Linked DNA regions of Homo sapiens: all the other regions are linked to region 1. The links are contacts of gene promoters, found by promoter capture Hi-C in blood cells and fetal thymus (Javierre and others, 2016). All regions are on one chromosome and are shown on one strand. The core of a region is centred on a gene start or on the middle of the fragment in contact, and the rest is flanking DNA. Distances in the headings are between cores, read along the strand shown.

Region 1 (6,970 bases), core at 1,653-4,152:
AGCAGTAATGGCCAGGGTGTAAGACACTTGGTCTTCATAGTCCAGCTCAGCCTGGGTGGTGACAGCCCCCGTGTCTGCATCGATGCGGAACTGGGGGATGCTGTCCTCCATGAAGTAGGTGATGCGGGCATTCTCACCTGTGTCCTCATCCGTGGCGCTGATCAGCACCACCGTGGTGCCTGCCGGCCGGTCCTCATTAACATTCACTGTATAGTGGGAGCTCTGAAAGACAGGACGATGGGTGTTGGCGTCGGTGACATTCACCACAATCTGTGCCGTGTCCTGCCGAGTGCCATCGGAGGCGGTAACAGCCAACACATACTGCCGCTCAAGTTTGTAGTCCAGTGGCAGGGCAAGGGATACCAGCCCACCACCACTTTGGCTGGTGATGGAGAAGCGGTTTCGAGTATTGCCACTGGTGATCTGGTAGGTGATGACACTATGAGCATCACGGTCCACAGCTGACACCGTCACCACGCTGGTGCCCACAGCTGCATCCTCATTGAGCCGCACTGTGTACTCTGGTTGGGTAAAGGTTGGATTGTTGTCGTTGACATCCAGGACAGTCACGCTGACACTGGCCGAGGCAGTGAGTGCTGGAGTGCCATGGTCTCGAGCTTCTACCCCAAAGCTGTAGAAATCAACTTCCTCCCGGTCCAGTTCAGCAGCCACAGAGATCCAGCCTGTGCCATTGTTGATGGTGAAGGGGAAGTCATGTCCCACCCCAGCAAGGCGGTATTCCAGGCGGGCATTGTCACCAGCATCAGCGTCGATAGCCTGGACATGGAGAACCAGGTAGCCTAAGGGGACACTCTCCAGGACAGTAGCCTGGAAAGGGGTGCTGACGAAGATGGGGGCATTGTCGTTGATATCCAGGACCTGTACTGTCACCAAGCCAGAGACATTAGAGAGTGGGGGACGGCCACCATCCTGTGCTCGCACCCGTAGGGTGTACTCCTTGGTCGTCTCATAGTCAAGAGGGCTCACCACATCCAGAGCTCCAGTCTGGGCATCCAGATAAAACTGTCCCCGAGCATTGCCACTCATGATGCTATAGTGCACCACGGCATTGCTCCCCTTGTCTCGATCCGAGGCTGTGACTCGGAGTACTGGGGCCCCTGGAGTCACATCCTCCCTCACCTGGACCACATAGCGCTTCTCACTAAACTGGGGGGCATTATCATTGTCATCCTCCACAGAAAGGAAAACAGCGGCTGTGGTACTCCGAGGACCCGGGTCCCGACCCTGGTCACTTGCCTCTACCGTCAGCTGGTAGGATTCCACCTCTTCCCGATCCACAGGGCCACGGGTTCGGATCACCCCAGAGCGAGGGTCGATCTCAAAGACTTCAGAGGGGCTGCCCCCAGACCCCTCCAGCAGGCGGTACAGAATATTGGCATTGGGAGGGGCATCACCATCCGTGGCCCTGACAGTGAGCACCTCATAGCCAACCTCCAGGTTCTCCCTGAGGCTCTCCTTGTACTCCTGCTGCTCGAACACAGGGTCATGGTCATTGGTGTCAGTAACCAAGATGGTGAGTGTAGCCAGGGCACTTCGTCGGGGCATGCCGTGGTCCTGCGCCGTGACCCTGAAGACGTGGGTGCTCTTGGTCTCACGATCCAGCTCCTCGGCTGTGGTTACTGCACCAGTGACTGGGTCCAGGGAGAAGAACTGGTTGGAGCGGCTATCAAAGAGGGCATCCATGGTGTACTCCAGTCGACCTGCCTCACCCTCGTCCGGGTCGATGGCCCTCAGGGATGCAACAGGGGTGCCTGCTGGCTGGTTCTCCGGCACTGTGGCCTGGTAGCTGGGGGGCTGGAACTGGGGGGCTGTATTTACATTCCTTTTCCGACGCCCACCCAGGGACTCTTCTGGTGACCTTTCCCCTGCCCTGAGCCCGGGGGCCTGTGCCAGCTTGCAGGACTGGCATCTGAGCCGTGGAGCCTTTAAGCACGGGTGCTCCTCGGGCAGTGTGAGCTTGCCCTGTGGGGAAAGGTGGCCTCCAATGCCCAGGAGGCGACAGCTCCAGGGGCAGCCTTCAGGAGCTGGTGGTAGGGGAATATGGGCCTCGGATTCTGGACACCAAACCCTCAGGCCATCGTGGTGGGGTACCAGGTGGCCAGTCAGCTCAGTGCCCGCATCCCTGCAGCGGCTGGTGTAGAGCCAGAGGTTCGACGCTGAGGATGGACAGAGCCAGCCCATGGGGGCGCAGGCCCCCGAAGAGCCTCGTCCCCTGGACCCCAAGGAACGACAGGGCCCCACTTGGTCTCCCAATAGTGGCGGCGGCAGCAGCAGCAGCAACAGCAGCAGCAGCGGCGGCGGCGGCGTTGGGAGGGGGACGCCGGTGGCCGGGCTCCGCATCTCTCCCAGCTCCCGGCCGGCGGCCGGGTCAACGGCGGCGGCGGCTCCTCCTCCGGCTCCTGCCGGCCCCGCCGCGCCTCATGCCCGGGCCAGGGCGCCAGTCCCCGGGGGCCTCCCGTGCGCCCCGCGGGGCCTGCGTCTGGATGGCTCGGCGGGACCCCGCGCTGCACCCTCCGACGAGCCCGGGCTCCCACTGCCCCCTGAGCCAGACCCGCTCCCGGGTCACCCTGAGCACCGCGGGCTGCCGCCGCGCCTCCACCTGCGCTCCGGGCACTCACCACCTGCGCCCGGGGGCCCCGCGGCGCCCCTGGCCTTGCCGGGCCCCGGGTTCCGGAGCCGGGGTGCCCCCTCCGCCCCTATGGGATCGCCCACCTGCGCCCGCGTAGCCGTGCGCCCCGACCCCGGCCCGGCCCCGGCGGCCCCCGACGGTCCCGCGCCGCCCGCTCGCGCCCCGCGTCCCCGCCGCGGCTGCTGCCTGTCGCCGCGGCCCCGGGCCCAGCCCCGCGCTCCCTCGCCTCCCCGGCGGGCGGGCGAGCTCTGCAGAGTCGCGGCGGCGGCTCATTACCATAGACCTGCTCGCGCCGCGGCCGCCTTAAAGCGGCAACGCCGGCCGCGCTGGAGGAGGTGGGCCCCACCCAGAGCACTCCTCCGCCCAAAGCGCCAGGATTCCCTCCAGCAGGACCCTCCATCCCAATTTCCCCAGGCCGGCCTCGCCAGATGCCCGGTGCGAATTAGCGATCGGAAGCCACACAGCCGATGATAATCATGGTGGAAGTACCCTAAGTATGCCTAGAGGTTTCCAAAACATTTTAAGGGCTCTCAGAGGCCAAGTTTCCAGTTCATTCCAGTCATAAAAGCCCTCGTTGCTGTCCCCTCCCATAGGTCAGACAGAGTTAAAAGGGCCCTGAGCAACACAACAAAGCCTCCAAAATCCCAGAGAAGCACCCACAATGAGTCACCGGGCCCACTCGCTCCCTACCGTCCCCTCCACCCCACCAGCGAGGCTGTTGTCTGACCAGCATGCCCCTTGGGGTCGGGCTGTTGGAAGAATGACCCCAGCCTCATGTTGGACACCACTTGGGCTTTTCCAGGGAAGTAAATTAGAAGGGTCAGAGTGGGTGGAAGCCAGGTGGTGCAAACACACTGTCACCAGATTCGGAGGCCGGCTGCGGTGGAGCCTAGCTTTAACACAGGCTTCCTGGATTCTAGACAAGGGGCTTACACTGCCCCCTGAGGTCCTGTCTAGAGAGGCGGCCTCTCATCCCCTCCTGCCTCCCTGTCCATGTCCTGCGGCTACCCCCTCCTTCCGCCACAGTTTTGTGACCAGCGAGGAGGCCTACCTGGTACCCGGGCTCCTGACCCTCTCCAAGGCAGCTTCATTTGAGAGGGTGTGCAGGATTCCAGGGGTTCTCCAAGAGGACCAGACATGAAGCTGGACCACACGGAGAGCCAGGCAGGAGCCGTGCAGGCGACCCAGAAAAGGCTTCCCTACATCCTGGAGCAGCCAGGGGCCCAGTCAGGTAGTCCCTGGGGGGATGCCCTGGCCTGGGGGGATGCCTGGGCCTGGGTCCCAGCCTCCAACACCACAGCTATGTGACCTTGCTCAAATTCTGTGCCTCAATGTCCCTTTTTGTAAAATGAGGGGATTGAATAAGGTGAATGGTTCTCAAATGTTTATTTAGCAGTAGAATTCTTTTCTTCAAAAGAAATCTGAAGTGGAAGGCCAGAATATAGAACAGATGAGTAGTGCTGCTGGGTTGAAGTGAGGGGGTCAGGGCCTTGCCCCTCTCCACCACTCCCCCAACCAAGAAATCCCTGGGCTGCTCTGTGCAACTTGAGGGTCTGGAGGAACCCATCTGAAAAGCACTGGATCAGGTGCTCCCTTCTACCACTGCCCCCGGTCACAGTGGTGCCACTCTCACTGGGTCACAGCAGAGGATCCCCCAGCCCCAGGCCCAAGGAGTGTCTGTGTGACCACACAGTGAGGCCAAGGATGAGAAATCAGCTTTTCTCTTTTCCCCTGGGGAAACAGGAAAGGAGATGGGCCTTGGGTACAGCAAGAAAGATTAGGGTTAGACTGTGCTCCTGGCAGGATGGATAGAAGTAGGAGGAGGACCCATGGCTCAAGGAAATGCCCTCCCCTTTGACCAAACAGGAGCTTTCTTCCTCTGAGCAAGGCCAAGGGCAGCTCTGGAGATGGAGGCGTGGGTTACACGCCTCCGCAGGGCTCTGCCTCTCTAGACTTCCTCAGACTCTGGAGTTTGGAAGGATCTAGGGGCTGCGTGGGCATTTTGTTCTTCACCTAATAGCCATGTGGTGCAGAGAATGCTTGGAAATTATACCATCTGTTAATTATCCTTTGAATTGGGGTTGGGTAATGAGACTCTCATTTCTGGTGAAGGCCCAAGCCAACCCGTGGAGAAGCTGCAACTCTCCATTCATCTCGCTCCCTTTGTTGCTAAAATAAGCTTTCTGGGTGGGAGGAAAGAGTAGCCCTGGCTCTGGATCACGGAAGGTGGTTCTGGGGCCTTGCACCTTGAGGCAGGGGTTGCCAGGGAAGGCATGAGCTCAGAAGCCCCTTCCAGGTGGGTGGCCTTTCCACCCAAAGGCAGATAGGTTGGGGGATCCAAGGAACCCTTTCCTTCATCCCCAAGCACATTTGGCAAATAGTCCTTAATCCTCCCCAGTCCTCCCTCCGGGGGCACAGGACAGAGCTCTCTCCCCATCACTTCCTCAGATACTTCCAACTCCCAAAAGCAGGAGGGAAATTTCCAAGTTTCATATGCATCACTGAGAGTCTCAAATGAGGGAGGGGTTGCCCTGGTGGAGGCCTCCCTGATCCCCAGGGAAGGGCTGCCTGCTTCATGGAGCTTTCCAGTTGTAAGGAACCTATGGACCTCCCTCCTGTGTGTAAGGGACATTTAGGCCTCCCTTCTGCATAGCTTTTAGGTGCTATCAAGGGGCAGCAAGGGCTTGGGGTCTGTTAAAAGAGAATTTATTGTTCTTCTAGTCCAAACCTCCCACTTCACAGTGGAGGCTCTGGGAAGGAAGGAAACCTGCTTGGCTAGCCTTGCGGCTGTCCTTTAGCTCTGGTGGGATTTCCTTACTCAGGTTGCTTCCTGAGGACCCCCTGGATAAGGCATGGCCCTGGCTTTCAACACAACAGGGTCGCATGGGTGAAGTGCTCCAGAAGCAACTGAGAGAAAAGGCTAAAGGAATTCAGAGGACAGAGCAGTGAGGGTGGAGGAAATCCCAGAGGGCCTCTAGAGGAGACGGGACTTGGGCTGCATCTTCAAGAATCAGGAACAGCATTCCTGGAAGAGGAATTCATCAGTTAAGTCACTTAATCTACACATTAAGTGTCTTCTCCATGATTATACAGCTAGTAATGGAAGAGCTAGGATTTGGACCCCGGCAATCTGACCCCAGAGCCCACTCTCTTAAGCAGTACACTATGAATGAATGAAAGGAATGAATGAAATGCAAGCATCAGCTTGGCTGGAGCTGAAGATTGGGGTGGCTCTGCTGTGGCCTAGCACGCTGGTGAGGAAGAACAAGGTGAGCTCTGCCTTGGGCAGATCCCTGTGGCCTGAAATTCTGGAACCAATGGCCTGCTGGGAAGGAGGGGTGGGGAGGGAGGCTGCTGATGGGATCGGTCATGGTGACCTTTTGTGGGTGGGCAGGGCAGTTTCTCTGGAAAGAGAAAGAGGCCCTGGCACCCGATCCCATTTCTGGGCTCTGTGCTGCTTTAGAAAGGGCACAGAAACCAGAAGGAGAGAACCTGGCCATGGGTGACTCCTGGAGCTCCTGGACTGTGGGGTGGGTGGCGTGAAGGAACCAGGAGCCAGCAGACTGGGGGATGGGGGTGGCCAGAAATCTGAACACCCTTCGGTCTACACTTGCCTGTCGTGCCCCGCCCACTGTTCCCCACTTTCTTCAAGGCTGGAAGGTGCACTCCTTGTGGGGGCTCTGTTGTTTCTCAGTTCCCCACTTCAGGTCTGTCACAGAGGGGGATACTCAGTCAGGATTTTATGGATTCTTCATGTGGTCACCTCCCCTCCAAACCAGTCTCTGCTCGGCAGTGAAAGTAATTTTTTTTTAAACTAATAAACATTTTTAGGTTTAAAAAATCTCCCCCAGTTTTTTATTTGGGAAAATTTCAAGCCTTCAGAAAAATCAAAAGAATGGTGTAATGGTATAATAAATACCCAGATATTCTCCTGCTAGATTCAACAATTTTTATTTTATTTTTTTCAGACAGGGTCTCACTGTGTTGCCCAGGCTGGAGTGCAATGGTGTGATCATAGCTCACTGCAGCCTTGACTGCTTGAGAACAGCCCCAAGTGATCCTCCCACCTCAGCCTCCTGAGTAGCTAGCTGGGACTACAGGTGCAGGCCACCCATGCCCAGCTTTTTTTTTTTTTTTTTTTTTTTTTTTGAGAGGGGGTCTTGCTGTGTTGCACAGGCTGATCTCAAATCCTGGTCTCAAGTGGGATTACATATGTGAGCCACTGTGCCTGGTGTCTGGATTCAATAATTGTTGACACTCTGCTTTATGTCTCTCAATTTTTGAAGAATGAGAGGAAAATGAGGTGCCTGAGCCCTGGGC
Region 2 (6,970 bases), core at 3,613-6,112, 240 kb before region 1:
CTTCTTGCGGCGCACAGAGCAGGCCACATCAGCAGGGGCACCAGCCTGACAGTGCTTGGCCTTCACTGGCCGGCAATAAGTGGCCAGGTTTTTCCGCTTCTTGGCCACCTCCTCCTCAGAGAGGCAGTTGGTTGGCAGGGCCTTGGCTGGGTGTCCAGCTGCTCCCCGGTTCTCCAGCTGAGAAGCCTTGACTGGTGTGGGGAGCTGATGAGGGGAGCCACGACAGTCCAGGGGCCCTGCCCGCTTCACTCTTGGCCCCATTGTCCCATTAAGCCCCATGCTCAGGGCTGTTTTAGTTTTGGCCGAGAGGCCCCTACAGCCAGAGGGTTTCCCTTTTCCAGTGGGCTCCAGGATGCAGGTCCGTTTAAGAGTGGTAGGGCCAGGGGATAACTTCCGCTTTCGAGAAGGGGCCTCCACCTCCACCCCGTCCTTGCCTTTGGATGACTTGCTGGCCTTGGAAGGCGGCAGCTTGCTGAAGGACGGGGATGGCGTGTTGGCAGGCAGTGGTGAGGTGATAGCCTGGCTCCCGCCCATGCACTCTGCCTGGCTACAGGCAGCCGCCACGCTGGGGGAGCCTGCAGGGTAGCTGGGGACAAGGTTGTCCTTGGTGGGGGGCATGGAGGCTGGGCAGGCAGGTCTCAGGGTTGGACCTGGAAGGCGGGGGCAGGTGCCTGTAGAGGATGGGCTCAGGGGAGCAGATAACGGGGAGTTGACAAGGTGAGCTGGAGGTTCAGCTGCCGGTGGGATCTTCCTGCAGCAAAAAGAAAGCCCCACTGTGACTGCCAAGAAACAAGACAGCTTCCCCCAACACAAGACACACTCCAGTCTCTCTGCCCCACCTAGAAATGGTCAGCAGAGCCCCAGAGTTGCTGCCATCTGCTGGGAGATGCTGGAACTGAGGGTTAGGAAGAAGACACAGGGGTGCCTGTGGAGAGGAATTAGCTAGTACCTACTAACTAGGAGGCAGCCCACTAGGAACTTCATTTTAAATCTTGGTTTGGGCATCCCCTATCCCTAGTTACCCAAAAGGTACTGGAAGTGATGGATGAAAGTCTAGATTCACCCCCAGACCACCCTTCCATGCCCTGCCTTAGCCAAACTCTAGGCTGCCAAGTTTTCCCACCTCCTTTTCATGCTACTCCCTATCTGGGGTCCTGCTGGCAAATAGCCAAGGCACACCTATGGGTATACAGGAAAGATCAGGGCTTCTGAAGCCCAAGTATGTCTGGAACCTAGGAATTTCCATTCTAGAACTTCCATTCTGGGTCCGAGAGACTTACTTCCACATGTGTGTGCTGAGGTGCCGTTCCAGCATGGAGCTGAGTGCTGAGCAGAACCGGTCCAGCCGGCGGCTAAACACATAGCATCCTGGGCTCACCAGCCGGCTCCCAAAGGTGCAGAACTAAAGGCAGAAGGAAGGTGCATGGTTGGCAGGGTCTGGGGTGCACAGACAGCATCTGCACACAGGATCTGGCCTCCTCCCCATGTTGTTGGCCAGGAGTGCTGGGCCACCCCCTCCATAGGCCCCTATTCCAGGTCCTTACCGCCTGTGGCCGTGGGGGCCGGGTTGCATAATGGCAGTCAGGGGGTGGGTGGAGGTCGTCAGATGTCCCCTCCTCCTCACTCTCTTCGCTGGAGGCCTGGGTCCCACCCCGGGGCATGGGGAAGGGGAACAGGCCTGGGTCCCCATCACCACCACAGGGGCCTTCATCATCCAATTCACTCTCGGAGGAGGCCCGGGACCTGGAAGGGCCAAAAGGGATGCCAGGGGAATGTGACTGTTGTGGGGTCAGAGTAGGGGCATCCTTGAACCTGCCGAGCTCAAAGAGCAGGGCACCAGGGCAGACACCCTGCAGGGCAATCAGAAGAGGACAGAGGGAAGGGAAGGACAGGAGGGAACGACACAGCTCACAGAGTAAGAGACAGAGAGACTGCTCCCAAGGGATTCTCTCCCCAGCCCCTTCACCTCCCAGCCCCTTCCTCCTCAGGGGATAATCTGCTGCAGATCCGCCTCCTCCAGAAAATCTTCACAGTTAAAACTGTACCCAGCTCTGGTCAGCCCAGTCAACTCGCTCAACCCCCTTCTTGCATCACATATTCCTGTGAGCCTGTCTGTGAGCTGAGCCTGTGTTTCGTGTCTGCCCCTTGTGTGACAGGCAGAGATGCATGTGTGTCTCCTTCAGCAAGTCAGGCTCTCCCTGGGGTCCGGCATAGCCTCTGCACGCGAAGGGGCCAGTGAGTGAATACACATAGGGCTGCCTTGCCCAGGAGTGTGACCCTTTCAGCTCCCCAGTGACAAGTTTCGGTCTGTTGGAGGCAGCTGGGAAAATGTTCATATCCTGAGTGTTGGATCTGGCACACTGCCGAGAGGCTGGGGTGCTGTGGTATGCCTGGTTGGAAACAGGGGAGTCTCCTGCTTCCACACCACTGTCAGGAGCCCCAGGAATACCCCCACACTCAGGGCTGAGGGAGTGCCTCTTCCAGGACACTCCCTGAGCCTGTTTCCAGGGGCCCCTGATGGCTTAGGGGCCAAGTACCCCCAGGTGAGGTAGGGGTTGGATTCTAGACGTACCTGGGCAGTGCACAGTATGGGTAGGTCTGCTTGGCACGAACAGAGAAGGTGCTGCTGGGAGCAGCCACCGCTGCTACAACCTGGACTGAGGAGGGGAGCTCCTGGGAGGGGCGCTCGAGAACTTGCTCCTTGCGCCCTGGGCTCTTCTCCTTGGGAGACTCCCCTTTGCGGGAGTTGGCCTTCAGCTCTGCCACCAGCACGTCAAAGTCCTTGGCCCGGCCCTGGACTTCCCGGCGCTGGTGTACTGAGTGGATCTAGAATACAGCAGAGTGGAGAGCTGGGGAGTAGGTATGAACTGAGAAGGGGTGAGGGACGGCAGGGTGCTTTGGCCCGGGCAAGTTGGGGGGCAGGGAGAGAGGTGGGCATATTTGCAGCTGTGTTCATGTGTCTTTGTTTCATTCCCCCATGGGGCCAAAACCCTCCTTTGGGATGGGGGAATCTGGAAACTCCCTCCTTCCCACTGTTCCCACCTTCTGCCCAGGAGGGGCATACCCATCTCCCCTTCCCTTGGGTGGGCCTAACTGCCCTCCCTTAAGCTGGACCTTCAGTAACATCGACATTCCTCTCTTTGCCCAGGGAAGGAGTGGGCAAGCCCTGTGCTGTCCTCCCTCACCGTGCAGTGGGAAGGGGGTTACCTTGCAGGTCAACAGGCGGGTACAGATCTTTTTGGTCTCTGGATTTATTACCCCACACTGCCTGTTGAGGTCGCACTCCTTCCCTGTGGGGAAAGCACTTCCAATGAACCTCAAGACCATTTCCAGGAGTTTACAGGAGGATTTGGCCGCTTCCTGCCAAGGGCCTGAGAACTGGTACTAAGGCAGAAGAGACTCCAGCCCTCAGCCTGGGGCTGTACCTTCCAGATAAACTTCTGGGCATCAACATCTCCTTGCTGGGTGTGAGAACCATCCCTATCCCAATTTCAGGTGCGCCTTTTGGGACTTCAAGCCCAAAGCAGGGCAACACACATCAAGAAACAAAAGCAGCCATGGGCATCTGGGAGGCCAGAGAAGCCAGCTGTGAGATGTGTCTGGCTGGCGCCCTGGATCTAGGTGAGAAAAGAGTGAGAAAGAACTTCACCTCCTGGGCATGGGCTCCCTCAGCCTTGATCAGGAGACACAGGATGGAGAGAAGCTTCCCAGGAAGCAAGCAGGTCAAGAGGTGACGGGGCTCCTATACCCTACAACCTGTGATGGCCAGGCCCATAAACCTGACCTCCTCCTCATCCAGCCCAAGGACAAAGCAGCCCAAAGGAGTCCCCACTCTACATTCTGGACCCCCAAGACCACAACTACTCACGAGCCATCTTCCGGTGGGTTTTAGGGGGCAGCCTGGTCCCACTGGGCTCCTTTTCAGGAGGGCTGCCTTCAGCCCAGTGACTGGACCCCTCACTGGGGATGATCTCGATGTTCTCTCTGCCAGGAGGTTCTTTAGAAGGGGGAGCCATGGGAGGTTTTCCAGGGGAGTCCTTGGTGAGGCCCCCTGGCTGGCTGAGAAAAGCAGAGGGTGGGGCCACCCTGATTCCATGTCCATCAGGCTTCGGGAGACTGGACATCTTCTCCAGATTCACCACAGGCACGAAAAGGCTACACACAGAGAGAGGGGGTTGGCTGAGGGAGGGGAGGGGAGGCGAGGCCTGGGGCCTGGACTCTAGCCCAGAGCCATCTCTTTCCCAGCCCTGGAATTTGGGTGGGCTCCAGCAGGGGTGTGAAACACGGGAAGAGGAGACCCCATCTTCCCTGGAATATATGGAAGGAAGCTGCAGACAGGACGGCTGCCTCCTGCTGTGAGGAGTATGCCTTGACCCAGGGCTGTCTGTATTGATGTCAGCCCATCCATGGGTCAGGGTCAGGGCCAGTCTTAGAAAGTTTCCAGCCTCTCCTTACCAGAGGTTGTCCTTCTGGGTCTTCTCAGGAGGCTGGTGGCCACGGCTCCGGGACCCCTGGCCCTTCTCCCTGGAGGAGGTTTTCGTGGAACCTGGGGCCCTACAAGCTGGGCCCTGCCCATTCACTACATGGCATTTCTGAGAGCTGGCAGGGGCTGGAGGTGGGGGTGGGGCCCGGCCATAAAGCTTGCTGAGGGGCCCATGTCTTCTTTCTGTCACCAGGAGGTGGAAAGAATAATCAAGGTGAGTGGTATCACCACTTCCTTCCCCAACCTAACCATGTCCATAGACTCACATGAGAGAATCTGAGTTTCCATAAATTAGATTGTAAACATGCCTCCTTCCCATTTGAATCTGAGCCTTTAGGACTCAAAATTCAAGACCCAGCTTCCTGAATGTCTTAACTCCTCCCGTAATTCCACTGGATGCTAGAATTTTGTTCAAACAATAACCCGACTCCCCACAATGCTCTGAAGCCACCCCCACAACCTTCCTATCCTCAACACCACCCTCCATTACCCTACGAGACCTCCCAACTGACCCTGTCCTCAGAGTTCCATGCTCCACCTTCCCCTGTCCCTTTATCTCCTCCCTAGGGCTCCCCTCACCGCAGTGCTTCTGGAAAGCTTGAGGCTTCACCACTTGGCTGCAGTGGTTACACACAACCAAGTAGAAGTCATCATGGGCAGGGCAGTGCCCGAAGATGGACATGTCTGCAATGACAGAAGCCCATGTCACTGGGGCTGAAGATCCCAGGGTTTCTCTGGAAGATCGGAGAGCACTCCCACCCCACACTCAGAAGGCACTTCACCTCCCCGCTGATATAACAAGCTCCATGCTGAATGCTTCCAGCTTCCAGAGTTCGATCTAAGCAGTCCCAAAGGGTATACGCTTTCAGGTGAGTGGGCAATCACCTATGATTATGATCTCCAACGACAGGTCACAGGAGCCAGAACAACCGGCCGACTCGGACCTATCAAAATGAGGGTCCCCAGACAGCTGCTTCAAGCAGCCACCTCCTTCTGTAGTGTGGTGGAAAAGTGGAGCGTGGTCCTGTCTGCCCTGGGTCCCAGCCCTAATGTGTGTCGACTCCCACCTTCTTTAATGAGGGTCATGGCATCCAACTTCTTCGTGTTTTTGCTACTCTCCTCCAGCTCAGCCCCTAGAGGAGAAACACAGCTCAGAAGGGTCAGGGCCAGTTTTAGAGAGTCTCCAGCCTCTCCTTACCAGAGACTGTTCTTCCCAGAAGACAACCCAGAGGTTGTCCCCTTTCCAGAAGCCCCAAGCAGGGCCTGCAGCTCAACAGTATGAAGCCCACACTCCGTGACAAGCTCCTGGTGCTAGGACCACTTGGGGAACCTTTCAGTGGGTCCATTCTCAAATGCCCATCTTCCTTCACCTGCTGCATCTGGACTAAGATGGCCCCACTAAGAAGAATCCATCCACCTTTCTTATGGGACCCTTCACTTCAAGGTGCAGTTTAGGGTTCCACTGCTAACTAGTTGGGTGATTGTGGGTAAGTATCATCTCTTTTCTGGGCCTGCTTCCCCATTTAAAGGGGAAACCGTCCTTAACCAATGTTTCTATAAGTCCCTGAGTCTCTTCTTGAGATTTCTCGATGGGTCCTTTCTGCTACTATGTGGCATCCCAAATAGATACTCTCCCAGGTCCCCACCCCCATGAACTCAATTTTGCTCCACCTGGGTTACCATAGCATTGTCAAAGTTACACCCAGCTTCTCAGGTCCTGCACTGATAGGATGGTCACAGAGCAGAGAAACTGCTGTCTTTGGTCCTTGAGCATCTTCAAAGTCTCCTTGGTCAGCTATGCAAGTCCCTCCCCTTCTTAGAGGGCCTTTGGGCAGGGGTTGCCCTTGTACCTCAGTTTCTGGGTTAATGACAAAAACATCTTAGCTGTGCAAAGCAGCTTTTTCCCCATCCCCCTACCTCTCTCCTCCCCCCTCCCTCCTCTACGCCCCCTCCCTGTCCCTTGGGAAAAAAAAAATCAATTCTGAGTCACCAAACCCGTCTGACTCCATTTCCGGTTCTCAATGCACCCAGACCCTGACAATGGCCCCATCTTTGCCCACCCAGCATGGGGCAGCCCCAGGGTGGCCTGGGCTCCCACTTAGGTCTGCTCTCTGATGCCCATTAACAGATATGCTCCTTTCTAGGATGAGAAGATTGTTGACAATCTTATATAATATCCAGATTATGAGGGGTCGTGGGTTAGGCACGCAAGAGACAAGGGGCAGCTCCCACTCTAAGTCCGTTAAATGCAAGTGCGGGGAATGATGGATAGAACGAAACTGGGAGTCGGATGTCTCAGAGGAGAACAAGTGTCATTAGAGACCCCTCCGTGCAGTCTCCTCCTCCACCTCTTCTCACTTGCAAACTTCTTCAGGGGCGTGATGCCTGCTGTCACCCCGAAAGGCCACGAGGCCAGGTGCTCCCTGGGGCCCAGAAGACAAAGATCAGAAGAAGGGGCTGTAGGCCCGCTCACTAAGGCACTCAGGG
Region 3 (6,970 bases), core at 2,069-4,568, 180 kb before region 1:
AGAAATACAGTACTTAAAAACATTTTAAAGTGGCTATTTGAAATTCTGAATTTTCTACTTACTCTACTTCTCCAAGTCACACATATATTAATGTCTATGGAACTAGTATGCCTATAGCAATCAATCAATCAATCAATCCTTATCTGGAGGCCATTATCCTTAGCAAACTAATGTAGGAACAGAAACCAAATACCACATGTTCTCACTTACAAGTGAGAGCTCAATGATGAGAACACATGGACACACGGAGGGGAACAACACATACTGGGGCCTACTGGAGGGCGGAGGGTGGCAGGAGGGAGGGGATCAGGAGAAATGACTGGTGGATACTAGGCTTGATACCTGGGTGACGAAATGGTGTGTACAGCAGATCCCCATGGCACACGTTTACCTATATAACAAACCTGCACATCCTGCACATACACCCTGGACTTAAAATAAAAGTTAAAAAAATAAATACTTATTTACTAAACAAATGTATCTAGAGCATATGCCAGGTGCTAGGCTGAACAAGAGAGTACTGACCCTCAAAGAACTCACATTTCCATTATTTTCCTTTTTCCCCCCTTTAACTTAAAAAATTATTTCTGTTGTGGTAAAATATCCTAACATAAAACTTACCATTTTAACCATTTTTAAGTGTACAATTCAGTGACATTAAATACATTCACACTGTTGTGCAACCATCACTACAATCCATCTCCAGAACTTCATTATCATCCCAAACTGAAATGGTGTACCCATTAAACCCATTAACTCCTCATTCCCCTTTTCCTCCAGCCCTAGATAATCACTATTCTACTTTCTGTTTCTATGAATTTGACTATTCTAGGTACCGAACATAAGTAGAATCATACAATATTTGTCTTTCTGTGTCTTGAGATTTCGCCTAGCATAAGGTCTTCAAGTCTAATCCAAGTTGTAGCATGTATCAGAATTTCATTCCTTTTTAAAGGGTGAACAATATTCCTTTGTACGTACACACATTTTAACTTCAATTACTTTTAAATAGCTAATTTCTCATTTTATTTCTTTCAAAGACACATTATGCTAGCTGCTAGATTGTTACAATGCACTCTCTTGGGAGAAAAGATTTTCCTTCCTATCCACAATTACCTGCAGCTCCCCTTCATTTATGTTATATATAGCACAAACACATTTACCCAGAGGAGATTCTACATTCAAGAACATTTCGTAAGCAATTCACTACTGTCTCTGACATTGATAGGGTCTGCAGAGCACCATGGAACCCTGGGTGCTCAGGAAATATTATGCTAAAGTACCTACGTAGTAAAATAACTCCGTTTTTTTTGGTTTTTTTTTGAGATGGAGTCTCACTCTGTTGCTCAGGCTGGAGTGCAGTGGTGAGATCTTGGCTCACCGCAACCTCTGCCTCCCAGGTTCAAGCAACTCTCTGCCTCAGCCTTCCGAGTAGCTGGGATCACAGGCACCCAACATCACGCCCAGCTAATTTTTGTATTTTTAGTAGAGACAGGGTTTCACCATCTTGGCCAGGCTGGTCTTGAACTCCTGACCTCGTGATCCACCCACCTCGGCCTCCCAAAGTACTGGGATTACAGGCGTGAGCCCCTGTGCCTGGCCATAAAAGAACTTCTAAAGAGCAGCTGTAGTGAATTTACGACCAAGACTTTTCCATAGAAAATAACTGATAAGGTGAAAAAAAAAAAAAGCTTGTCAGAAAGCTGACAAGAAAGCTAAAAATTACCATTCTTTTCTCAGAAATCTAACAGATCCCAGAGGATTGCTACTTGGAGTTCTTCCTCAGTTTTATTAGTGCTAAACATCTGATTGGCCAGGGATGACCAAACTAAACTCCTACTGAATCCATGAAGGAAGTCAGAAAATAAAGGGTGGGGAAAACTAATCTTGGTTAATACTCAAAAGGCTTATTTTTACATTTCCTGCACCTTTGAAATGCCTTGGTGACTTACAAACCTAATCTAGGACCAAGAATGAACTTTACTGGAGAGATACAGGCCTTGAGAGGTTAAGGACTTGACTAGTGGTATCACATTAACAACTGGAAATGAGATGCTGGCATTTCCCTTTCCAGCATATACTGCCTGATAAATGATTTCTTTCCCCCGACTCCAGCTTTAAGGTGTAAGTGACAAATAGAAATTGTTCATGTTTATGGTATACAACGTGACGTTTTGATATACATATATATACACACACACACTGCAAATAATTAAATGAAGCTAATCAACATAATCCATCATCTCACATACTTTCCTGTGGTGAGAACATTTAAGGTGTACCCTCTTCACAATTTCAAGTACACAATATATGATTATTAACTATAGAACTCATCCACCTTCTCTGACTGAAACTTTGTATCATTTGACCAACATTTCCCTATATTCCCCACCCCCGTGCCAAGACTTCTTACTTGCCTTTCTTGAACAAATACTTGAATTACAGTGTTATTACGAAGCTGCAAAGTTGCTCCTCAAGCAACTTATTGAAGGGAAGCAAGAAGCGTCGAAAAAGAAAGCGCTTTTTTTTTTTTTTTTTTTTTCGGATAGGGTTTGGCTGTTGCCCAGGCTGGAGTGCAATAGCACGATCTGGGCTCAAAGAAAACACTTATTTTTCACAAACAACAGAAAAAGCAGTGAATATTTTGAAGTCTGGATCCTGAACTCTAGGTTATTTAGGTCTGAAACCTGTACTAGGGGGAGGGGTGCAAGAAAGAGTTGATAAAATTACCTTAACCATGTGGAAACTTTAAGACTTTCTTACATACTAACCCCTCGCCCCCCACTTTTCTCAATAAACGAGCCAAACTGGCTGAAACGAAGGGACTCGTCCGCGGCGCCGGCTCAGACCCACTGTAGCCGACTCATTACCGCCCAAAGTCCTGGAGCCCTCGACCGGGCATGGAGAACACCGTGGAGGAACCCTAAGAGAGGGAATCCTGCGAAGAGAAGTCAGGTGGTGGCCTTGCCGGAAACGGGACCAAAGTCCTCTAGCTGGGATTACGGGAGCCGGCGAGGGACCTATTATGTCAGGGTTCAGACAACCCAGCTCTGCATGCAAGCCTTTCCAATTGCCAGTCTTGGGGCGGGCTCACATCTTCTCTACAAGGCGAACTCACTACACGCCTTGGGTGCCTATCGTCCCTAGCAACCACCCGCGATTTAAGGCGGAAGTACCTCCCTGGTCCTCCTCCTCCTCCGGACCAACCAAGCCCTCGTGAGGAAGCGCGTTGGCCCAATCACCTAGGCGGGAACTACTACCAGCCAATAGGAAGCAGGCACAGGAGGGCGGGCTAAAGAGGTCGCGGTCGCACGCGCAGTTGGTCCTTAGTACTGCGGCCGTGTGGGTGAGTTGGCTGCCGGTGAGTTGGGTGCCGGTGGAGTCGTGTTGGTCCTCAGAATCCCCGCGTAGCCGCTGCCTCCTCCTACCCTCGCCATGTTTCTTACCCGGTCTGAGTACGACAGGTCCGTGCAGCTGGGGGACGTCGGGTGGGAATTATGGGTGGGCAGGCCCGGGACCTGGCCGCGCGGCCTGGGTTCTGCCGTGTCATGGGGCTCCCCAGGAACCCGAGACTGGCCGGACCTGGGGATGTTATGCCCTCCTCAGGCGCCCGCCGTCCTTCCCCAAGCTAGACCACATCGGCGGCACTTGTCCTACCGCTGAGTCACCCCTGGGTCCTAACTCGGTGCGGAAGCGAGAAGCTCCGGCTGGTGCTTGGTAAAGAAGGCGTGAGGAGCCGGAACTCCTACCTTGAACCCGGAGAAGGCCAAGGGTCACTCTTTGCTCCGTTCATCTTTTCGTGCCTAGTATGACTGCCTTGAACAAACAAACAAAAAGTTAAACGTGCTTCCTGGAAGAAAAAGCAACTGGTTTGTAGTAGGGCATGCTGCGGTGTATAGTTTCTTCAGAAGCGCGAAGGCAGTCGTAGCTTTGGCTGGATATATTGTCTGGAGTCTGATTTTATAGGAACTGGAATTTAGAATGGTTTTCAAGAGATTTCTCATCATGCCGATTCCAATTGACCAAAATTTTTTCTGACTTTTTAAAAGTTTAAAGCAAGTTTTAAAAAACTTTTGTGGTATGAAAATGTTCACAATATTAAGTTGTACATATATATGCTGTAGACATTTTTACTTTCAGTTTCTGTTTTCGTCAGTTAAGTTTTTACATAGCTACTCTTTTTTAAAGTCAGGGAAGGCAGACATTTTCTTTGTACTGAGTGGTATGAGATGCTGCATTTCCTGTCAAGTATATGCTGATCCTGTCGAAGTTTTACCACCTGCAGTTACCACTTTTTCATCTTTTTTACTGACTCGTAGAAGATGTGTGTGAAGTTTTGACATATTTCCCCACTGTCCTATAAAGTGACTTTGTTGGTCGATATTTAACTTCCAGAACATTGAAGAGAATCATCTTCGGGTGACATAATTTTGAGTTAGGGTGTGTATGATAGAAATTGTTATGCTTATCAGAAGGCATTTATTAAATTTTGTGGCCATTTACTTAACATATGTATTGACTGCTTTGTTACTTATTTTTCTGTCTTCCCAAGACGGCCTAAAATACATCCCTTTTTATTCTCTTAGTTAATGTGCTTGAGTGCTTGCTGTGAACAAGGCACTGTTCTAGGTGCTGGTGCTACAGCAATGGACAAAATCAAGCTCCTTGCTCGCATATAGGAGACTCTTTTGAGACAGTCTCGCTCTGTGGCCCAGGCTGGAGTGCAGTGACGTGATCTTGGCTCACTGCAACCTCCCCCTCCTGGGTTTTGTTTGTTTTTGAGACGGAGTCTCGCTCTGTCGCCAGGCTGCAGTGCAGTGGCATGATCTCGGCTCACTGCAACCTCCGCCTCCTGGGTTCAAGCGATTCTCCTGCCTCAGCCTCCCGAGTAGCTGGGACTACAGGCGCGCGCCACCACTCCCAGCTAATTTTTGTATTTTTAGTAGAGACAGGGTTTCACCATGTTGGCCAGGATGGTCTCGATCTTTTGACCTCGTGATCCACCTGCCTTGGCCTCCCAAAGTGCTGGGATTACAGGAGTGAGCCACCGCGCCTGGCCTGCCGCCTGGGTTTAAGCAATTCTCTGACTCAGCGTCCTGAGTAGCTGGGATTACAGGCGGTGCCACCACGCCCGGCTAATTTTTGTGTTTTTAGTAGAGACAGGGTTTCCTCATCTTGGCCAGGCTGGTCTTGAACTCCTGACCTCGTGGTCCACCTGCCTTGGCCTCCCAAAGTGCTGGGATTACAGGCGAGAGCCACCTCGCTCGGCCTGAGACTCTTAAAGAATTGTTTACAGGTACAGTGGCTCATGCCTGTAATTCCAGCACTTTGGAAGGCCGAGGCAGGATTGCCTGAGCTCAGGAGTTGGAGACCAGCCTGGGCAACATAGTGAGACCTCATCTCTACTAAACATTAAAAAATATCAGCCGGGTGTGGTGGCGCTGACCTTGTCTCCAAAAAAAAAAAAGAATTGTTTACAGAAGTAACTATAGTGTGAGTCAGAAATATATTAATGCCATTAGAGAAATTCAAATCAATACCATGGAAGTTTTGATGAGGGATTGCATTCAATATGAGACGATCATGGAAAACTTCACAAAGGAGCTGACATTTAAACTAGGTTTCTTGAAAGAGTAGGAATTTAATAAAGACAGTGAGATCAATAGTTGTGGGTTGGAGAATATGGGATAAATGAAGGAGGGGCAATGGAAAAGCACAATACATTTTGGGAAAAGTCCAGTCTGACTGGCACATATGATACGTGTATGGGAACAGCAGGAGATAATGGGAAAAACAGGATGCTGCTAGATATTGAATGGTTTTTAATACGAGGCTAAGGAGTTTGGGTCCTATTTCTGTAGGCAACTGTGTGCTGTTAAATAATAATTGTGTTTTACAGAGATTAATTGTCTGAATTAGGGGAAAGTGAGTCAATACCTGTTAGTGTTAGGCTATTAACAATAGTTAGGTGAAAGGTAATGAGGGCATTGAGAAGGAAGAGTGATGTGTTACTGTGGAGGAGGAATTGATATGAATTGGTATGACTTAGCATATAGTTGGATATGGGAAAAGATGGGGAGGAATGAGTCAGATCATTTAGAACTTCGTATGTTGGGAACACTGGAAGATTTGAGATGTTTTAAATTAAAACTGAAATTGGAATGGCAGGAGATGAAGTCAATTTTGCAAGGTGGCTGGATTTAAAGAGATAATATTTCAAACTGGAAAACGTTAAGTGTTAAGTGCTAATAGGATATGCAAGTGGAAATGTTCAGCAAACATTTAAATTAGTTAGGAAAGAGGTGAAACTGGTAGTAGAGATTTGGAAGTAACTTGTGCTTAGCACTCTCCCAGGCTGGAGTGTAGTGGCACCATCTCGGCTCACTGCAACCTCCGCCTCCTGGGTTCAAGTGATTCTCATGCCTTAGCCTCTCAAGTAGCTGGGATTACAGGCACCTGCCACCACGCCCAGCTAATTTATGTGTTTTTAGTAGAGACGGGGTTTCACCTTGTTGGCCAGCCTGGTCTCGAACTCCTGACCTCAGGTGATCCGCCTGCCTCATCCTCCCAACGTGCTGGGATTACAGGCGTGAGCCACCACGCCAGGCCAAAAGCACTACTATATGACATGTTACCTGTTGTAAAGTCTGGACTCCATAAACCACGGATTGCAACCATCTCATTCATTTGTTCACATATTTTTTGTGTCCATTGTGTGCTCAAAGCTTTTATAGCTGAGACCATGATTGGTGCCTCTTCTCCGTAGGGATTTCCAGCACACTTGAGCAAGGAAAGGTGGAAAGTGTTAAGTGTTAAGGGGAAGTGTTTAGAGAGGAAAGCAGTCTGACATGTAAGTTATATAAATATTGAGTGAATGAACTAGGTTAGAATTAGGAACTACATGGATCTCAGTCTGTTAAGATAACAATAGTAATTCATACAAATAAGTAGAGAAATGTACCTGTGACTA
Region 4 (6,970 bases), core at 1,391-3,890, 160 kb after region 1:
CCTCCCACCTCAGTCTCCTGAGTAACTGGGACTACAGGCACGTGCCACCATACCTGGCTAATTTTTGTATATTTTGTAGAAATGGGGTCTCACTGTGTTGCCCGGGCTGATCTACAACTCCTGGACACAAGCAATCCTCCTGCCTTGGCCCCCCAAAGTGCTGAGATTATAGGCATGAGCCATCACACCCAGCAAATTTTAACTTTTACCTCTTCCCTCAACTTTGGAGAATGATTAATTTTCCAGACTCTCAGACCCAATCGGAGGGATTTTTTTCTAAAAATGAAACCAAATATAATCCCAGCTCACTGTACTCCCTACTTTGTAGCTCCACACTGTCCAGAGATGGCAGTCTCTTCTCCCTGTCCAGACATGGCCTCACCTTTGTAAAACACACCCCAAACACCCTTCTTCTCTGATAGCAGCCAGGTTTTGAGACGAGGTACTTTCTTGAAGTAGGCACAGGTGCAAACAAAGAGCAAACCAAACACCAGAATCCCATCCAAGGAGTACACTGTTAAATAAAGAAGAAAAGAAAACCTTAGGTACTGATCTAGCGTCGGACCTGTGATCCCGCCTGAGAACTCTAAGGAAGATAGTGTGTGACATAATAACAAAATAATAACCTCAACAGGCAGTACTGACACTTGACAAGGGGGAGCCAGGATCCTGGGACTAACACGATTATTTTACTGTTCCCAAAAATTGCTTGTAGGAGGAAGGGGGATCAATTGAGCCCAGGAGTTCGAGGCTGCAATGAACTACGATCATGCCACTGCACTGTAGCCTGAGCAACAGAGTGAGACCCCAACTCAAAAAAAAATTTTTTTTTTTACATCCCCTTTACTAAAATGTCACTGGTCCTTCCCCTCACCTTTCAAGAAGTAGAAATCCTGGGCAGAAATTAGCATCCCAGGAATGACTAGTGTTGGCAATAGATTGAGACATATGAATCCTTAGAGACTCAGCACAGAGAATTTAACATGTTCTTGTTATAAATCACTCATATGATAAAGGAGAGCTAGATATGTAGCCAAAACTGTCAGATGTGCAACTGTTGGTGAAGAATATGTTAAGGCAAAAAATTAAGCTTAATGAAAGTTGCAAGAGTAAGAATCCACATGACTACAATTTTCCTATCATTATCTTACACTTTATGGATGATACTCTTAACAAACCGAATTTCTGCCAGAATAATAACAGATTTTTCTAAAACAAAGAAAAAGTATCTAAGGCTTCAACATAGAAAGCTTTAACTTCTTAGCTCTGTTTCTTAAATACATAAACCAAGCTTATTTCTTGTACAGGGAAGCACAATGAATCACCTAATTGCAAAAAACAAGAAGATATTGGACCACAAAATGGGGGAAGAATGACTAAAATTTATTCAGCAACTACCGTGTCAAACTGCTGTCTTACTTCCTGGTTCAGATTCTGTCTTCCTCTGGGTAAATTCCCTTTTCTTACTGTGCCTAGTATCCTGAGACCTCTGACTTCCCAGGAAGCTCCAAATGAATATTATATATAACCAGTGTCTGCCAGTTCTAGATCACACTACCTCTCTTCCTCCAGTAAAACTGTCTCACAGCTAAGCTGTCACTAAGAAAGGGTCCAGCAAATTAATACATACACTAAGGTTTTCTGAGGAACTATACCTTCACGTGCTACCCCTTTTCTCTCATAAGTTTCTGCAGACAATGCCAAAATTCACAAGGAGGTTAAATTCGAGTCTTCAGTGCCAGGTCTATGGACAAAGTACTTTTGAGAAATGCTTTCCGGAGCCCCTCAAATCATCGTAATGCCTAAAAGGCTTTCTCTTCTCCTTTCCTGTAAGGTTGACACTAAAAATCATGAAGGCCCTCCTTCCTGTCCTCCTCTGGAATTCAGAATTCATAAAGTGTTTGAAGAGGCCTGGAAAATTAGGTCAGATAAACTGCCTCATCATCTAGAAGAGGCAGTGTCTAAATCCACCCTTTGCAACACTAGTCAGGGTCTCCACGTGGGATCACCCCGCCAGGACTTTAAAATCAGAAATCTTTCCGGTATTTTTCCGTAAGAAGAAGCTTTTGTGGGGTCTACATTCACCAGCAACCCCAAAAGTGTGGGACTTGATATTCTATGTCATTTATTGGCCCTCTCAACAAAACTACGGTCCGAAAGCATGAGAACGCAGGGAGCTGGGAGGAGGAGCCTCTCTCTTCCCCGGGTTTAAATAGCAGTAGTACCTCTGGGACTGACCTCTCCAAGGGCCAGAAAGAACTAAGAAAAAGAAAAGGGAAAGCAAAGCATAGGGATAGATAACTCGAGGTGTGAGCATAAGAGGCACTGGGGGTCCTAGATGAATATGGGAAGGGGGAACCCGTAGAGGAGTATAGGGGTACAGAAGTTAGGGGCGTCGAGAGGCCAAGGGGGGCCGGGCTGGGAGGGGGCGGGGAGAACGGCCACGTCAGTCCCGGCCCCGCCCGCCACGTTTTCCCTTCGTCCTTCACTCCCACCCTCCGCTCAGGGCATCAGTTCTCACCGTTCGTCATGGCGGCTGGCCCTGGACCTGGGTAGGGGGTCCGGGTTCAGTGGTAATAGCGGCGGAGATGGGGGAGCGCCCGCTTGACACTTCCCGATCCGGGCCGAGGTGACTGGAAGAAGCCGTAGTACGCAGGAGCAAGGGCCGAGAGGCGAGCGCCGAACGCTATCAGGAGTGGCTAGCCGATTGTCGAGCTCGGGAAACTGCGTGTTTACGTAGGGTAAGAAGAACGCTATCTCGAAGGCTTCGTACTTGGCCGTGGTAACTAAGTCTTTTCTGCGTGCCCCTGCGGGCGTAGGGCTGGGGCTGGCCCGCGTCAGTGTGTTTGAAAAGGTAAAGGCTTGTAGTTTTGTAGTTTATTTTGCGCCGTGGCGGCTGCTGTGTGTAAGCAGCAGCCTACCTATGAGGTTTTCATCGTCCTGGGCTTCCACTTGAGAGAACTCCAGCACCGCGGGTGAAGAAGCCGCACCTGCGGCCTCCGTGACTGCCCTTGAGCTGCTCTTCCTTACTCCGGATGGAAATCTAGTCAGACTGCGTCTGAACGTTGCAAATGAAATGAGGAACCTTGTAACAAAAACAAGTCGCGGCCGGGCGCGGTGGTTCACGCCTGTAATCCCAGCACTTTGGGAGGCCGAGCCAGGCGGATCACCTGAGGTCGGAGTTCGAGACCAGCCTGACCAACAAGGAGAAACCCCGTCTCTACTAAACATACAAAATTAGCCGGGCGCGGTGGCTCATGCCTGTAATCTAAGCACTTTAGGAGGCCGAGGCAGGCGGATCACCTGAGATCGTAGTTCGAGACCAGCCTGACCAACATGGAGAAACCCCGTCTCTACTACAAATACAAAATTAGCCGGGCATGGTGGCTCATGCCTGTAATGTAATCCCAGCTACTCGGGAGGCCGAGGCAGGAGAATCGCTTGAACCTGGGAGGCGGAGGTTGCGGTGAGCCGAGATCGCGCCATTGCACTCCAGCCTGGGCAACAAGAGCGGAAACTCCGTCTCAAAAACAACAACAACAACAACAACAACAACAAAAACCAAGTCGCATCTTTCAGATCCTAAAGCACCACGTCGTCGGAAAACATTCAAAGGGTTGCCCGTTTGCTTGTGTGAATTTTTCTTTTCCTTAAACTATCAGGAGAATCTCGATTCTCCTGCATTTAATTAATGCTGGGATCACTTCAGCCACTTTAACCAGAAATCGGCGATATCTAGACACCGCTTCTCTGAGGACACTTTGACAACGTGACAAAAGACATTGCCAGTCTAATGATGGGGGTGGGGTGGAGGAGACAAAAGTACAGATTCAGATTTGCATACTGAAATCCTTAATTGCACACAACTCGGCCCGCTTTATTAGAGTTCGGGCGGAAGTGCGACACCGAGTCCTCCAAGGCTAACTGGAGGGTTAAATTATACGGTTACTAATCCGCCGTGCTTGTCAAGGGCCTAAAGGGACTCTGCCCCTTTCTGCTGCAGTGCCATCTGCTGGCTGCAGCCTGCTTGGTTACCCAGAGGGAAAACTGCCAAAGCATCCTCTGGAAGCTGGCCTGGAAAGACAAGCCAAAGTCTAGTGCAGGACAGATGCCTTGAGAAAATATACATACATGCAGAAAGAAAAAAAAAAAAAGACGGCGTATATACGGGACAAAACCTAGGACAAGGCCAGGCAGCCACTCAGATTATATATATGTTTGCACATTCACACACAGACAAATTCCCCTGCCCAAAAGAACTGTTCAGGACCACTCAAAAACAAAACAGAACAAAAGCTCTATTGTTTAGGCCTTCGAATCCTTCATCAACCATTGTCTAAAACAGCAGCAGCTGGCCGGGCGCGGCTCACGCCTGTAATCCCAGCACTTTGGGAGGCCGAGGCAGGCGGATTACCTGAGGTCAGGAGTTCAAGACCACCCTGACCACATGGTGAAACCCCGTCTCTACTTAAAAAAAAAAAAAGAAAAAAGAAAAAAAGAAATACAGAAATTAGCCTGGCATGGTGGCGTGCGCCTGTAATCCCAGCTACTCGGAAGGCAGAGGCAGGAGAATAGCTTGAACCCGGGAGGGAGAGGTTGCAGTGAGCCGAGACAGCACCACTGCCCTCCAGCCTGGGCGACAGAGCGAGACTCCATTTCAAATAATAATAATAATAATAATAACTGCCCCCCTTTGGCCGGGCGCGGTTGCTCACGCCTGTAATTCCAGCACTTTGGGAGGCCGAGGTGGGCGGATCACCTGAGGTCGGGAGTTCGAGACCAGCCTGACCAACATGGAGAAACCCCGTCTCTACTAAAAATACAAAAGTAGCCGGGCATGGTGGCACATGCCTGTAATCCCAGCTACTTGGGAGGCTGAGGCAGGAGAATCGCTTGAACTGGGGAGGCAGAGGTTGCGGTGAGCTGAGATCCTGCCATAGCACGCTAGCCTGGGCAACAGTGAAACTACGTCTCAAAAAAAACAAAGAAAAGAAAAAAAATTGCCCCTCTTGTAATCCTACAGCCATCACCTTAGTAATTTTGCTATATCGGTAGTCTTTAAGTATCAATTATGTCCTCACAACAATGAAAACTTACATTTTTATAACATTTTGACATTTTCAAAGCAAACACACCTTGTCATATGATCTTATTTAACCCTCACAACTGCCTGATTACCCCTGTTTTAGAAATAAACCAAGGTTTAGGGTAAGGACTGCCAAGTATTACACTGGCACAATAATTCCAGCCTTCTGAAATCAGGACTAGAAAATTTTCCTCCATACCACACTGGTGTTTCCTTTGACAGCAACCACTACCTACTGAATAATGCCTAAGTCCTTAGCCTGCTACTCAAGGCCTTCCAATAGTATTTTCCACTGTTCCCTATATGGGCTTTAAGCTTTGTCTATAAAGACTATGTTCTTCAGTTACAGTCTTTGCTTTCTCATTTTTGCTCATGCCACTCACTTTTTAGAGATAATTTTTTCTCCCCATTTTTTTTTAACTAGATGAAAACCTCTTCAGTTTTTGTCATACTCTGAAAGACAAGTCTTTCCTCTTCTGTCATTCTCAGAGGTTAGAATAAAAGTTAATCAGCTGGGCGCAGGGGCTCACGCCTGTAATCTCAACACTTTGGGAGGCCGAGGCGGGAGGATCACCTGAGGTCGGGAGTTCGAGACCAGCCTGGCCAGCATGGTGAAACCCCGTGTCTACTAAAAATTCAAAAAAATTAGCCGGGAGTGGTGGCAGGTGCCTGTAATCCCAGCTACTCAGGAAGCTGAGGCGAAAGAATCACTTGAACCTGGGAGACGGATATTGCAGTGAGCCGAGATTGTGCCATTGCACTCCAGCCTGGGCAACAGAGTGAGACTCCACCACAAAAAAAAAAAAAAAAAAAAAAAAAAAAAAAAGTTAAGCCCGGGCGCAATGACTCACGCCTGTAATCCCAGCACTTTGGGAGGCCAAGGTGGGCAGATCACCTGAGGTCAGGAGTTCAAGACCAGCCTGGCCAACATGGTGAAACCTTGTCTAAAAACACAAAACTAAAAACACAAAAATTAGCCGGGCATGGGGGCGTGAGCCTCCAATCCCAGCTACTCAGGTGGCTAAGGCAGGAGGGAGAATCGCTTCAGACTGGGAGGCGAAGGTTGCAGTGAGCCGAGATTGTGCCACTGTACTCCAGCCTGGACAACAGAGTGAGACTCCCTCTCAAAAAAAAAAAAAAAAAGAATAAAATGTAAAGGCTGGGCATGGTGGCTCACACCTGTAATCCCAGCACTTTGGGAGACCGAGACAGGTGGATCACTTGGGGTCAGGAGTTGGAGACCAGCCTGGCAACATCGTGAAACCCTGTCTTTACTAAAAATACAACAATTAGCTGGGTGTGGTGGTGTCTGTCTGTAATCCCAGCTACTCGGGATGCTGAGGCAGGATAATCACTTGAACCGGGGAGGCAGAGGTTGCATTAAGCTGAGATCACGCCACTGCACTCCAGCCTGGGAGACAGAGCAAGACTGTGTCTCATAAACAGAAAAAAAAAATTAAGGATGAAATCAAAGCTGAAAAACCAGGAGGAGTGATGAATTGGCAAATTACAATTTTTTTTTTTTGAGACAAAGTCTCACTCTGTTGCCCAAGCTGGAGTGCAGTGGTGCAATCACTGCTCACTGCAACCTCTGCTTCCTGGGTTCAAGCAATTCTTCTGCCTCTCCTCCGGAGTAGCTGGAACTACAGGCATGCGCCATCGTGTCCGGCTAAGTTTTGTATTTTTAGTAGAGATGGGGTTTCACTACGTTGGCCAGGCTGGTCTTGAACTCCTGACCTCGTGATCCGCCCGCCTCGGCCTTCCAAAGTGCTGGGATTACAGGCGTGAGCCACCACACCCAGTGGCAAATTCCAATTTTTATTTTATTTTATTTTAGCTTTGAGACAGAGTCTCGCTCTGTCGCCCAGGCTGGAGTACAGTGGC

What was found. Contacts are between HindIII fragments. The CHiCAGO score rates a contact against its expected background, and 5 or more counts as called.
Region 2: a fragment that was not itself captured here is called in contact with the fragment with the promoter of CELSR2 in region 1 in 9 of 17 cell types (fetal thymus, total CD8 T cells, naive CD4 T cells and 6 more); the score reaches 11.9 in fetal thymus.
Region 3: a contact is called between the fragment with the promoter of PSMA5 here and the fragment with the promoter of CELSR2 in region 1, in 1 of 17 cell types (fetal thymus). The highest score is 6.8, in fetal thymus.
Region 4: the fragment with the promoter of TMEM167B here is called in contact with the fragment with the promoter of CELSR2 in region 1 in 2 of 17 cell types (M0 macrophages and M1 macrophages); the score reaches 5.9 in M0 macrophages.

Annotation. Positions count from the first base shown.
Region 1 is chr1:109,245,471-109,252,440 of GRCh38, reverse strand. It overlaps CELSR2 (cadherin EGF LAG seven-pass G-type receptor 2), which reads right to left and starts at 2,902. Exons shown (of 34, transcript NM_001408.3): 1 at 1-2,902. The coding sequence starts at 2,361. RefSeq lists silencers at 1,255-1,445, 2,544-2,643, 2,804-2,863 and an enhancer at 2,865-3,585. The HindIII fragment of the contact is 8,037 bases long and covers 1-4,831 here.
Region 2 is chr1:109,484,703-109,491,672 of GRCh38, reverse strand. It overlaps ATXN7L2 (ataxin 7 like 2), which reads right to left. Exons shown (of 11, transcript NM_001350175.2): 2 at 5,551-5,616; 3 at 5,063-5,167; 4 at 4,456-4,666; 5 at 3,869-4,155; 6 at 3,208-3,290; 7 at 2,573-2,826; 8 at 1,545-1,743; 9 at 1,281-1,402; 10 at 1-751. Among named protein-coding and RNA genes, the nearest start is that of ATXN7L2, 4.3 kb to the right of the region's middle. RefSeq lists a silencer at 767-816. The HindIII fragment of the contact is 440 bases long and covers 4,643-5,082 here.
Region 3 is chr1:109,422,796-109,429,765 of GRCh38, reverse strand. PSMA5 (proteasome 20S subunit alpha 5) reads left to right here and starts at 3,318. Exons shown (of 9, transcript NM_002790.4): 1 at 3,318-3,464. The coding sequence starts at 3,436. RefSeq lists enhancers at 2,758-2,817, 2,324-3,255. The HindIII fragment of the contact is 5,034 bases long and covers 1,694-6,727 here.
Region 4 is chr1:109,086,434-109,093,403 of GRCh38, reverse strand. It overlaps TMEM167B (transmembrane protein 167B), which reads right to left and starts at 2,640. Exons shown (of 3, transcript NM_020141.4): 1 at 2,522-2,640; 2 at 383-514. The coding sequence starts at 2,531. It also overlaps the pseudogene NDUFB3P1. RefSeq lists an enhancer at 2,807-3,006. The HindIII fragment of the contact is 3,338 bases long and covers 2,066-5,403 here.